Regions from separate parts of the Homo sapiens genome. Here region 1 is linked to region 2. The links are contacts of gene promoters, found by promoter capture Hi-C in blood cells and fetal thymus (Javierre and others, 2016). All regions are on one chromosome and are shown on one strand. Each heading gives the region's core, a stretch centred on a gene start or on the middle of the fragment in contact. The rest is flanking DNA. Distances are from core to core; before and after follow the strand shown. Region 1 has its middle 29 kb from the start of IL9. Region 2 holds the start of SMAD5-AS1 (SMAD5 antisense RNA 1).

Evidence for each region. Contacts are between HindIII fragments. The CHiCAGO score rates a contact against its expected background, and 5 or more counts as called.
Region 1: a contact is called between a fragment that was not itself captured here and the fragment with the promoter of SMAD5-AS1 in region 2, in 1 of 17 cell types (M1 macrophages). The highest score is 5.0, in M1 macrophages.

What each region holds. Positions count from the first base shown.
Region 1 is chr5:135,921,300-135,927,820 of GRCh38, forward strand. No RefSeq gene overlaps it. Among named protein-coding and RNA genes, the nearest start is that of IL9, 29 kb to the left of the region's middle. The HindIII fragment of the contact is 234 bases long and covers 2,452-2,685 here.
Region 2 is chr5:136,130,152-136,136,238 of GRCh38, forward strand. SMAD5-AS1 (SMAD5 antisense RNA 1) reads right to left here and starts at 4,739. Exons shown (of 2, transcript NR_026763.1): 1 at 3,199-4,739. SMAD5 (SMAD family member 5) reads left to right here and starts at 2,694. Exons shown (of 8, transcript NM_005903.7): 1 at 2,694-2,811. RefSeq lists enhancers at 1,958-2,017, 2,048-2,097 and a silencer at 2,408-3,047. The HindIII fragment of the contact is 4,393 bases long and covers 3,622-6,087 here.

The DNA.
Region 1 (6,521 bases), core at 1,319-3,818, 210 kb before region 2:
GCAACGTTGGAAAACATGATTCAGTGTTACATTTTATTTTAAATATGTTGCAATGTGAAAGCTTTACTAGAAGAGCAATAGTAAAAAGCAATAGGTTAAAAATTATTTTTATTCCTTATTTTAAAAAGTGATAACTTCAGATCCATGAAGCTGTGCAAAAAAAGTCCACCATAAACCAGAAGAACATGTTGTTAATGAAATCTTGAGCTCCATACAATGCCCTTGACTTTATTCACTTTTCAACACAGAGTAATGGCTTTGAATCAATGTTGTCAGTGATGACTAAGCCTGACCCATTTAGAAATGCTTATTTCATAATTCCCCATTTACGAGGGCTTCATACTGTGGATAGAATGCAAAGAACAGCAAGCTCTTCTACATTTAGAGACACACTAGCTGGGACTTGTGATTTTAAAATGAATAGCCTTAATCTTGAAGTAAAGTTAAATAGCTCCTTTACTAATTTCCTTTAGGGAAAACTTAATCTAAAGAAATATGAAGTAAAAACTGTATCTCAAAAATGTTGAGAGATTTTTGCACAGGCAAGAAATCTTGACTGATGTAGATAATAGGCTATTTATATTTTAAATAGTAAAAAACAAATTCTTAAAGGAAAAATATGATCAATCTTCAGGACATAATTAATCCATTGCAGGTTTAAATGAAATGAATTAGAACAGAGGGAAATCTTACAGTGTCTTTTTATGCTGGCAAGGTGTTTTGCAGTGTCCAAGGGAAAACATGTGCAAAATGTACCTGAACTTTTCTCTCGGAAGTGGGCAGTTTACATATTAAGCCACATACAGACATGATTCAGAGATATTGTGGGTTCAGTTCCAGACCACTGCAATAAAGCAAATACCTCATTGAAGCAATTTGTATGAATTTTTGGTTTCTCAGTGCATATACAAGTTATATTTACACTATACTGTAGTCTAGGTGTGCAGGAGCATTATGTTTAAAATCTTTACGTACCTTAATTTAAAAATGCTTGACTGAAAAAAAAATGCTAACCATCATCTGAACCTTCAGTGAGTCATCATCTTCTTGCTGGTGGAGGATCTCGTCTTGATGTTGACGGCCGCTGACTGATCAGGGTAGTAGTTGTTGAAGATTGGGGTGTCTGTGGTAATTTCTTAAAATAAGACAACAGTGAAGTTTGCACACGGATTGACTCTTCCTTTCACAAGAGATTTCTCTGTAGCATTTAATGTTGTTTGGTAGCATTTTACCCACATTAGAACTTCTTTCAAAATTGGAATAAATACTCTCAAACCCTGCTGCTGCTTTATCAACTAAGTTTATGGAATATGCTAAATCCTTTGTTGTCATTTCAACAATGTTCACAGCATCTTCACCACAAATAGACTCCATCTCAAGAAACCACTTTCTTTGCCCACCCATGACAGGCAACTCCTCATCTGTTCAATTCTTGTGAGACTGCAACAATTCAGTCACATCTTCAGGCTCCACTTCTTACTCTAGTTCCCTTGCAGTTTCCACCTCACCTGCACTTCCTTCCTCCATGATGTCTTAAACCCCTCAAAGTCATCCATTTAGGCTGGAATCAACTTATTCCAAACTCCTGTTAATATTGATACTTTGGCCTCCTCCCATGAAGCCCAAATGTTCCTAATAGCATCTAGAATGGTGAATCCTTTCCAGTAGGTTTTCAATTTGCTTTGCCCAGATATATCAGAGGAATAACTATCTATGGCAGCAATAGCCTTACAAAATATATTTCTTAAATAGTAGGACTTGGAAATCAATCCTTGATGCATGGGCTGCAGAATGGATATTGTGTTAGCCGGCCTGAAAACACTAATTTCCTTGTACATCTCTATCAGAGCTCTTGGGTGAGCACTGTCCATGAACAGTAATATTTTGAAAGGAATCTCTTTTTCTGAGAAGTAGATCTCAATAGTGGGCTTAAAATAGTAAAATATGCTGTAAACAGATGGCTTTGTCATATTTCTAGAACAGAGAAGGAGCAGATTAAGCATAATTCTTAATGGAATTAGGATTTCTAGAATAGTAAATGAACATTAAAGTAAAGCCAATGCTTTAATTTAAAGTCACCACCCACATTATTCCTAACAAAAGAGGCCAGCTGTTCTTTGAAGCTTTGGTACAAGGCATTGATTTCTCCTCTTTAGTTATGAAAGTCCTAGATGGCATCTCCTTCCAATAGAAGACTGTTTAATCTACATTGAAAATCTGTTTTGAATGTAGCTGCCTTTATCAATGATCTTGGCTAGATCTTCTGGATAACTTGCTGCAGCTTCTCCATCAGCACCTGCTGCTTCACCTTGCACTTTTATGTTATGGAGATGGCTTCTTTCCCTAAATCTGATGAACCAAACTCTGCTAATCTCAAACTTTTCTTCTGCAGCTTCCTCACCTCTCTCAACCTTCATAGAATTAAAGAGGTTAGGGCCTTGCTCTGGATTAAGCTTTGGCTTAAGGGCAGGTTATAGCTGATTTCATTTTCTATCCAGACCATGAAAACTTTCCCCATACCAGCAATAAGGCTGTTTCACTTTCTTGTCATTTGCGTGTTGACTGGAGTAGCACTTTTTAATCTCCTTCAAGGACTTTTCCTTTGCATTCAAAACTTGGCTAATTGTTTAACACAAGAAGCCTAACTTTCAGCGTATGTCCGATTTTGACATGCCTTCATCACCAAGCTTAATCATTTTTAGATTTGAATTTAAAGTGAGAGACAAGGAACTTATCCTTTCACTTGAACACTTAGAGGCCATTCTAGGGTTATTAATTGGCTTAATTTCGATACTGTTGTGTCTCAGGGAATAGAGATGCCCAAGGAGGGGGAGAGAGATGAGGAAACAGCCAGTGATTGGAACTCAGAACACACACATTTATCAAGTTTGCCTTCTAATATGGGTGCAGTTTGTGTCATCCCAAACCAATTACAATGGACACACCAAAGATCCCAAATCACAGATCACCATAACAGATATAATAATAATAAAGTTCAAAATATTGCAAGAATTACCAAAATGTGACACAGAAACACAAAGTGAGTACGTGCTGTTGGGAAAATGGTGCCGATAGACTTGCTTGATCCTGGGTTACCATAAAACTTCAACTTGTAAAAAACACAACATCTGAGAAGTGCAATAAAGTGAAATATGCCTGTATAGCATTACTTTATCCCACCACAGTGCCAAAAATAAAGATTCTTTATTAAATAGAAAAATTATTGGTAGAGTTTACCTGTATTTTTCTTCACAATAAGATACATAAACAATTTCATTGCAGAGTTCTGAAATGATGTTGAGTCAAATACAATTTGATCCTAGTGTAGTAAAGAGTTAACCTTACCCAAACAAAGGTCTGACTTTTGCATTTAGCTCCTAGGAGGTGATCTCTTAGTCCTTGGAGTGTCTTACCTGATAGGAGTGTCTTTGTTTACCTGGGAACCTCGGGCCACATGGGACAGTCTAATAATGTAGTTTATGGTGGAGGTTTTGGGCTACGTGATATCACCTTGACCTCAGGGGTGGGGAAGGCTGGAAACTAAAGAGCAACCACACACAGGCAGTCAACCATGTCTATGTGACCAAACTCCAACCAAAACATGAAAGAGCTTCCCTGATTGACAGTACTCTGTTGTGTATTGCTATACATTGTTGCCTGGAGAAATTTAGCACTGCTCATGATTTCACTGGAAGAGGACACTTGGAAGCTCTACATATGGATTTTTTTTTTTTTGCATTCTTCTCCATGCCTCTCTTTCCTTTGATTATTTTAATCTGTATCCTTTCACTGTAATAAACTACAACCATGAATATAACAGCTTTCCATGAGTTCTGTGAGTCCTTCTGACAAATTATCACATTTGAGGTTGATCTTGAGAATCCACAAGCTCTGAAGTTGGTGTCAGAAGTTAAAGCTGTCTTGAGGGTTTCCCAGAAATGTCCAACATGCACTCCCCCTCCACCCTCCCATCCCACCCCCCCCCACCAAAACAGAGACATCTTTTTATGTGTGAAAATATTTTTGATGTGATTTTTGTTGCACAATTTTACTTGTAACAGTCAGTACAGATGTTCCCAAACATTCCAGGTTTCTTCTTCCAGGCATAAGGTAGGACTGCACTTCTTTACCTAACTTAAGTTAGGTGTTGCCATTTTAGCTAGCTTTGGCCAATGAAGTAAGAACAGAATTGACATACAGTTAGAAGTTAAGGTGCAGTGTATGTACCTCAGTGTCTCTTTCCCATGGTCACAGACTATTTTCCAGACAGTGGCTGCTCTAACGTCCTTGGTCTCAGAATGAACACAACAGGGATGACAGCTTCTAGCTGAAGTGTGATAGAAGTGTAGCATGACTGAGAAATAAACTTTTTTTTGCATTAAATCACAGGTGTTTGTTATTTCAGCATAACCTAGCCTATTCTGACTTAAACAACCAAAATCTTTGTTTGCTCAAAGCTTAATAATAATATTTTCTTTGAAAGGACTATACAGAGATGTTCTTTTTTGTATCACAAATGGCATATTGTGTATTCCTGTATTGTAAAGTATATCATAATTATCTGACCGACATCATTTTAGATATGGCTCTTTCCATCAAAATCCAACATATTTATACTAATAATTGAAATTCTAGAAAAATTCTTCAGTAATATTCACAGAAATGCACCAAGATACAGGATTTTCACAGCCTACTTTATAATAGTAAAAACTAAATGTTCAGCAATAGAAGAAGGTTAAAGAATTGCAATGTTTCCATATAAGGGGATTGCTCATTTGGCCATTACTAAGTGAGGAAGAGATTTCTCATTACAACCAAGATAGAGAAATAGGGAATAAATTCCCTCTCTGCATAAAAGAACAAAAAAACAAAACCGGGACAAAACAACCAAAGAACAAAATCAACAACAACAACAACAAAAACACACAAAGTATTTGAAACAATGACTTTTGTAGGAATAGAAAGGGAATGATTTTTTTCCTCCTCATCATTATATAGGTCACAGCCAACATCCCTATGACAACAGGTTAACAAGAGAAAAGCATAACAAAGTTATTTGATCATAGCTTTATGTGATATGGGAATCTTCAGAACGAAGACCCAAAGATACAGGGGAGCTATCTGATTTTTGTTTAGGTTTGATGAAGCAGGGACAGTGTATAGAAATGTAATTAGATGAACAAAAGGCTATGAGCTAATGGTAATAGGCTGATTGGGAAAAACCTAGCAAGGTCTGTCTGATTAGGTTCTTCCTGAGGAAGAAATATTGTAGCATTTCTTCCTCCTGGGTATAGGGTAGGACCCTTCTGGAATCTTAATTTCTTTATAGCCAGCTGTTACCCAAAAAGGCAGAGGAAGGTTAGAGCAACACTTTTAGGTTTTACGGCTGGCTTTGGGGGAAAAGGGTTCTGGTTTCTATGACCTACCTTGGGGAAGAGGAATTCTAGTTTCTATGGTTTGCCTCAGGGAAGAATGAGGGGTGAGAGATAGAAGGGCAAAAGATCAGAGAGAAACTTTGCTTTTGAGGCTGCTTCTAAGGTCTTCGCTTTGGAGTCATTTTCAGAGCCCCAACACTTTTGAGAAACAAGATATCAGGCAACAAAAGACAAAGATCTCCAAGAGATAAGAAATAAATGAGATAAGTCCTATGATTACCCTTATTTTATTGCCTTAAAAGAATGTCTAGTCTGCTACACAGAGAGGGGGAATCCAGACTAAGTTTAGTGGACACCCTGAGTTTAGGAGTTGACAATATGCTGCTAAAGCAGTACTTATGGGTATATTTATGGCACTGCAAGCCTATGTTAGAACAGAAGAAAGGTCTCAAATCAATGAACTCAGATTCTACCCTGAGAAACTAGAAAATAAATAGCAATTTAAATTCAAAAGAAAGGAAATAAAGATGACAGCAGAAACCAATGCAATATAAAACAGGAAAAATAATAGAGAAAATTAATTAAACCAAAGGCTGGTTCTTGGAGAAGATCAATAAAATTGATAATCCTTAAACCAGACTGATGAGATAAAAAATAGTGTAGATACAAATGACCAACATCAGGAATGAGAGAGTGACATCATTATAGATACTACAGACATTAGAAGAATAATAAGAGAATATTATAAACAATATTATGTCTATCAATTTAACAATCCAGATGAAATGGATAGATTTATTTAAAGATGTAAACTACCAAAGCTCCTTTAAGAAGAAATAGATAAACTAACCTAATAGAAGAAATAGCCCTAAATTTATTAAAGTAATTGAATTTCTGGTTAAAAGCCTTCCCACAAAATAAACTCCAGACCCAGATGGCTTTATTGGTGAATTCAACCAAACATTTCAGAATAAATAATACCATTTCTATATAGACTCTTCCAGAATTGAATAGGAGGAAATACTTCTCAGCTTGCTTTATGAGGCTTGTATTACTTGATATCAACATTTTACAAAGATATTACTAAAAAAGAAAAGTACAATCTAATATCCCCCATGAACCTAGATGCAGAAATTCTAAACAAAA
Region 2 (6,087 bases), core at 3,489-5,988:
TTTTGGTAGAAGGAGGCTGTTCTGTGCATTGTAGCATGTTCAGCAGTGTCTCTGACCTGCAACGCCTAGATGCTAGTAGCACCGCCCTCCTAGTTGTGACAACCGAGAACATCTTTAAACATTGCCAAATGTTTCCTGGGGGTGCAGTCACCCCTGGTTGAGAATTATAGGACTAAATTGTCCAGAAATAGGTTTCTCTACAAGTAAAGTAAAATTGAGTATTGGAGTTGCTTTTATCTGGTCTTCTTGATCAGGTGAATGGCTAAATGAAAAAAGCAGTTTGTCTATTTTGATGCCCCACTGACTATGTCTATCTGTTCAGATCATCCTGTTCTACATTTGTTCTTAGATCCCATTTGATTGCCAAAAACAGGGACTTCCTTACTTCATTCTTATGGTTCTGGGATTCCTGTTCATTTGCTGTTTTATAATGTTTTTGACTGTATAGATATTTAGTGATCCCTCTGATTTTCCATAGTCTTTGAGGTCTAGGTAATTTCTTAGACCTTCGGAAGGCTGCTGGTGTGGTACTAAAATCTCCATTCCTCTCTTCTATGTTATCTCTTCCAACTTTAGACCTAAACTGAGCTCAAATAGCAAGTTGGAGAGGCTGGAGTTGCTGGCTGATTTGATCAGTATGTGGACACATAACTTAGGAAGCAAAACTGTTGGCTATGAGATTACATATGTGATTATGAAAAGGAATCTTGTAATCACAAATTCTTCTGACGTATGTACAGTGACTGCAAAACAGCAAATAATTTGTTTTGGGAAGGATTTTATTGGCTGTTTGAAGTGAGGAGTATCTCTACTATACAAAATATTTAAACCAAATTGTTATGTCCTATAATGTTCAACAAAGCACTCTGCAAACATCAGTTCTGGAAAAAAAAAAAACGTATCCTCCAAGGCAGGATTATATGCACTTCTGGGAGTTGTAAACCCATGCAGGCTCCAGAAATATTTGCCTTCCAAGGGCTGGAAACTTCTGAATTAACAACAAATAATCAGTGAGTGTGACAAAGAGTTAAAGTACACAGACTTTACTTTCTCAAAGTTTATGATGTAGTAAAGAAGTTTAAGATGGAGACCTGAAATTGCAAACTGGTGGCCAGTAGGCTAAATCGGGACCATGGATTTGTTTTGTTTGGCTTGCATGTAGTTGGCCTCCAGAATGTCTAACAGAGTGAGAGGAAGGGAGCGGGGTGGGGGGCGGGCAGGAGACAGGCAAAGAGAGAGAAAAATAGAAAGAAGTTGCTAAACAGATATAATTGAGATTTTCACATAAAAATCTAAATTTCCAGCTTTGCTTGAAAAATCAGAATATCTGCCAACACTGGGTCCTTATTCCCACATTTCCCTATGGTAACAGTTGGCTGGAATGAAATAGCAGTGACCCCTTTGGTCTCTGGAACTAGACACTCACTCTCTGGTCTCTTCCCCCACTTCCCCTTCACTCCTTTACTAGCCCTCTGTCACCATTTCAGATGGCCACCCCTAATGCAGAGACTTCTGGACATTTATTTAGTTTCTTCTCCACAGAAATAAACTTCTAGAGCCTGGAGCAAAATAGTGGCTGCGCCATTTGTGTGTCAGATGAGATGACCCTGGCTCGGGCCATGGAGGTGGCAATTGAGGTGTGAGAAATGGTCAGATTTAGGATAAATTTTGAAGAAAGAGTCAGTAGAATTTCTGATGGATTGGATTAGGGTGTCAAAGAGCATTCCAAAATGACCCCGATTTTGATTTTTACTTATTTTAAAAAGAAAACCTATAATAGAACATTGGAGAGCCAGTATTGACCTTTTCAAATAAAAACAAAATTATTCAAAAGCTTTTTCTTACTAGTACTATTCAAATCGGGTACCCTATGTGGTACCAATATTATATTCTAGGAAATACTGACGGTTTTGGAAATTTGGAGGAAAAAGCATCGAGAAGAGCTCCAATTACTTAGAAAAGAGAGTCCAGGAGATGGGGTGGTGTATATAAGCCTATGGATGGTGTCTCTGCAACTCAGTGGCCCCGCCTGTCCAGGGGCTGGGTCCCCACGGGATCTCCCTCCCCACAAGGAGGTGGAGAGGCTATGTGTCTTGAACAACTGGGGTTGCGATCCAGTGTATGGGCAGTCCCACTCCTGGAACTCCAGGGTGGGCACTCGCTCCATTTCCACAGGCCCTCAAGGGTTCCAGGATTGCCCCGTGGGAGGGGTTTTAGTGCTGCATCTAGTAAGAAGCTGTAAGATGCTCAGAAACATGTTTTGAAGCTACTTTGCACAGAAAGAAGACTCTTCATTCAGATTTGTATTACAGATCAATAAAAGTAGCTAAGTCGTATCTGAAGATGTTTTTGTTTACACTTTGTATGTGACAGAAAACCTCCAGTTGTCTGTGTCAAGGACAATTACTTAATTTTATTACAATGTATACTGATTTGGTTAGTGGAAGCTTCTAGCGCCTACTGTGGTGGTGGTGGGAGCTATCTGATTCCCATTCCCAGGCCTGGCCATCGACGCGAAGGCCTCCAGCTGATCGGAAGTCGGCGTTGGCCGGCGCGGAGCCCGGCGCGGAGGCTTCTTTCAGCCGCCCGGGCAAGACACCCCTCCCTCGGTCCCGCAGCGGTCACTCCGCCTCTGGCGCGCATGCGCCGACCCCAGCGGGCGTCCTCCCGGGCTCCCTCTCCCTCCCTCCCTCATCCGGGTCCTGGGCGAGCGGGCGCCGTGCGCGTGTCCCGCGGCCGAGCTGCTAATAAAGTTGCAGCGAGGAGAAGCGCAGCGACGGCGTCGGGAGAGCGCGCCTAGCCGGCTCGCGAGTGAGTGAGGGTCCCCGGCGCGCGCGGGCGAGGGGAACTGGGGGCTGCAGGCTCTGCCCCGGCGGACTCGGGCCGAGGCGGGGGCGTTCGGCCGCGGACGGAGCGGAAACGACCCAGGGCCTGTCGGGCGGGAGGTAGGCCGAGTCCTGGCCTGCCGGGGTCCCGGCTGGCGGACACGGTGCGGCCCAGCGGCTGCGGAGGCCTCGCTGGCTGCCCGGGGCGTCCTGAGGCGGGGCCGGGGCTGGCCCTCGTCCCAGCCCCGCTGTTACCGCCCAGACTTTGGAGGGAGGCGTCTGGGACGCCCTGGAGGGGACCCCCTGACCCCGCGCTGTCCTGGGGAGCGGTTTGCTTTCCTAACTCATCGGATGTACCACCCTGGATACACACCCTTGATAGGACTGCGGTGCTCGGCCGGGCAGCCTGGGCTGCTGCACTGCGAAGCTGTCCAATGGCTTGATGAATCCGTGCCGCCGTCGCTTTGTGTTTCAAAGATAAGGATCCGCGCTTATCGGTGGGAATTACACTCTGGGCAGTTGTGACCGGCTACTGCAATCAGCTGGTAGTTAGACCTGGTTTCTGCCACTTGCCATGTCAGTTTTCACCACTGCAAGGATTTCTTCTACTTCATGTAAACTTCTCTGTGCTGCAAAGAGAATGCCAAAGCAGCGTCTTTTTGCCTTCACCATATTCAGCCGCTGGCCGGGTCCTATACTTCAATATCAGGGCTCAAATTAATATTCCAGTCTCTTCCCCTCCCCTTTTCCCCTCTCCTCCTTTCAGCTGCTGTTACTACGTGGAGTTTGGAGCCTAAGCTTTGAAAACTCCCATGTGGCGCGCCCGTCTTAAGTCTGAGCATGCTCAGTAGCCAAAACAGATTTTTGGTTGCAGAACTCGGGCGAGGATACTTGGGGTATTTGGACGTTTGCCGGCTTCCCAACAGAATGTTCCGGTTCTGGTGGTGATGGCATTGGAGAATGGGGCTTAGGCAAGCCTGTAGGTGAGGAATGGCTGAACACCCTGAGCCAGATGTTTATCTTGATTGTAAAGACAATGTTTCCTGACCAGCTGGAGCTTTGGGGGGGGGGGGGGGGTGTTGCGGGGGGAGGGAGCAATTTTGGTTGCTTGTGCATTTAAATGGGTGTGGCGCTAAGTATATCTTGTTTACCTTATCTTTCTGTGGAAAAGTTTTGATGTCTAGGTTTGTCACATCATGCCTGTTGCCTAGCACTACCAAAAGGGTTGTTATCTAGCAGCAAAGATTGAATAGGTGGAGGTCGTGGCTTGGCCTCACAGAAGTTGAGAGGAAAGGGTACTTGGGTTGCGTTTTTGAAAATTCGTATTTAAAACTAGAGTACTTGAATTTCCTTAGAGTACCTGAATTGCCCAGAGTGAATTAGTTTTTAATTTTAATTTGAAAGACAAAAGATTGAAAACCTTAGTCCCAGTAGGTTTAGTAACATTCCAAATAGCTTACAATTTCTGCTAGATGCCAATGCAGTAGTATCCATTGTGGGGAAAACAGTACCTACATTCAGTGTGACAGTTTCACATTTATGGATCCAAATATCATTATGAAATTAGTGTTCCAAATTTAAGGAGCTATTTGCAGATGTATAACAAATTATTTTAGTCTTTTATTCCTTTGGTAACTATTAATATTTTTTTCTCTACAGTGAAAATTGTAAAAATGCAAAACTTAGACAATTTAACAAAACTTAACCTTCATAAAGGTTGTAGATACTATGTTTAGATTTATAAAGTTTAATTTTGATGATTATTTGTGTGATTGTTCCTATACAGCTTCCTTTCCTTCCCTTTCCACATTGTTGCTCCCTCAGTCTTTTTTACATTACTGCTGTTAATTTACCCATGTATCTTTGTTAAAAATACCTTATTCATCATTTTGTGCTTCCATTCCTTTCAGATCATAGCTGAAATAAGCAAGAAAAGTTAGATTAACCTTCTCAACTGACTTTACTCTCAGGTTTTAAAGGCATCCACATGATATGGTCTAGTTAAAAGGAGGAAGAGAGCAGCAAACTGGAAAAAAAGAATAAAATATTTTCGTAGGTTCTGTACAGATCTGGTAGTATTATCTGCGTGTCTGGTTCACTGTGGTAGGCGCCACAGAAATGGGTAGATTGATAATGTGTTGGATTTCTTTCCCCTCTGGCAAAGTCAGCTATTAATTTCAGTGGGAGACAGTGGCAGAATGTTGTTACTAATGAGGTTTGAATCAGATTGTTGTTTACTGTTGGTTATGTAACATGTTGCTGGGAGTATTATTAAAAGTTGCATTCTGCAGCAAAGTAGAGGCAAGTAAATTCTGCTTACCCTCTTCACTGGGTTTTAATTCTTGGCTGAACCTGAAGGCACATTAGATTACAACCATAATTATACCTGGGCAGCCTGTCTGTTTCCTGTTTTCATCATGAACCCAAACATTATGATTTGCAGTGATGATCTTTTTTGTCCTTTGCATTGAACGGAGGCAGTGTGTTTTCTCCCTCTACTGAAAACAGATTTGTAACTTGGTCAAATTAAAGATTTTAGTGTTTTGAAAACTAGGCAGTAAAATACCAGTTTTTCATTTCTTAATACAGTTACTTAAGTTGAAATACCATCTAAAAAAATCTATTTCATATATATTCTTTGTCTTTATGTAAATTTTAATATTACTAGTACTTTGTAGAGTTAAAGAAACTCTTTTTGTTTATGACATATCAGTGTTTATTATTACCAGATGTATATGTTGGTCTAGGCAATGAGCCACACATCTGGGTGAATTTCAGAGCTGACTTGAGTACGCTTGAGGATATAGGTGTCTATTCTCTTGGTTTATCAGTCTTCCCTGTTTTTACTTCTAGACGATCTATATTCCTTGTATCTGTCTGTCTGTCTCTCTGTCTCTCTGTACACTAACCACAAAGAAGGCAAATAGTTTATTTCTTCAAATGTTACAAGCAGCTTATAGCCTATGATTTGCCCGTCTTCTCATAGGGTCAAAGACATTGAGTAAGATTCCCTTTTATAAGGGATACTAGTAGCCTGAGGAATGATTCTTGTCTCCACCAGTCTGGATATTCTAGAGAAAAGAATACCTGGATATTCTAGAGAAAAGAATATTCTAGAGAAAAGAAAAGGCCCAAGGAAGCTGGGATGCAATATAGGGTGCTTTCCCATCAAAACAGATGATGAAGGACCCTTGGAAGCTGACCCATGGCATCCCCCCGCCACTGGGTTCTAGCTCTGTCGCCCAATCTGGAGTCCAGTGGC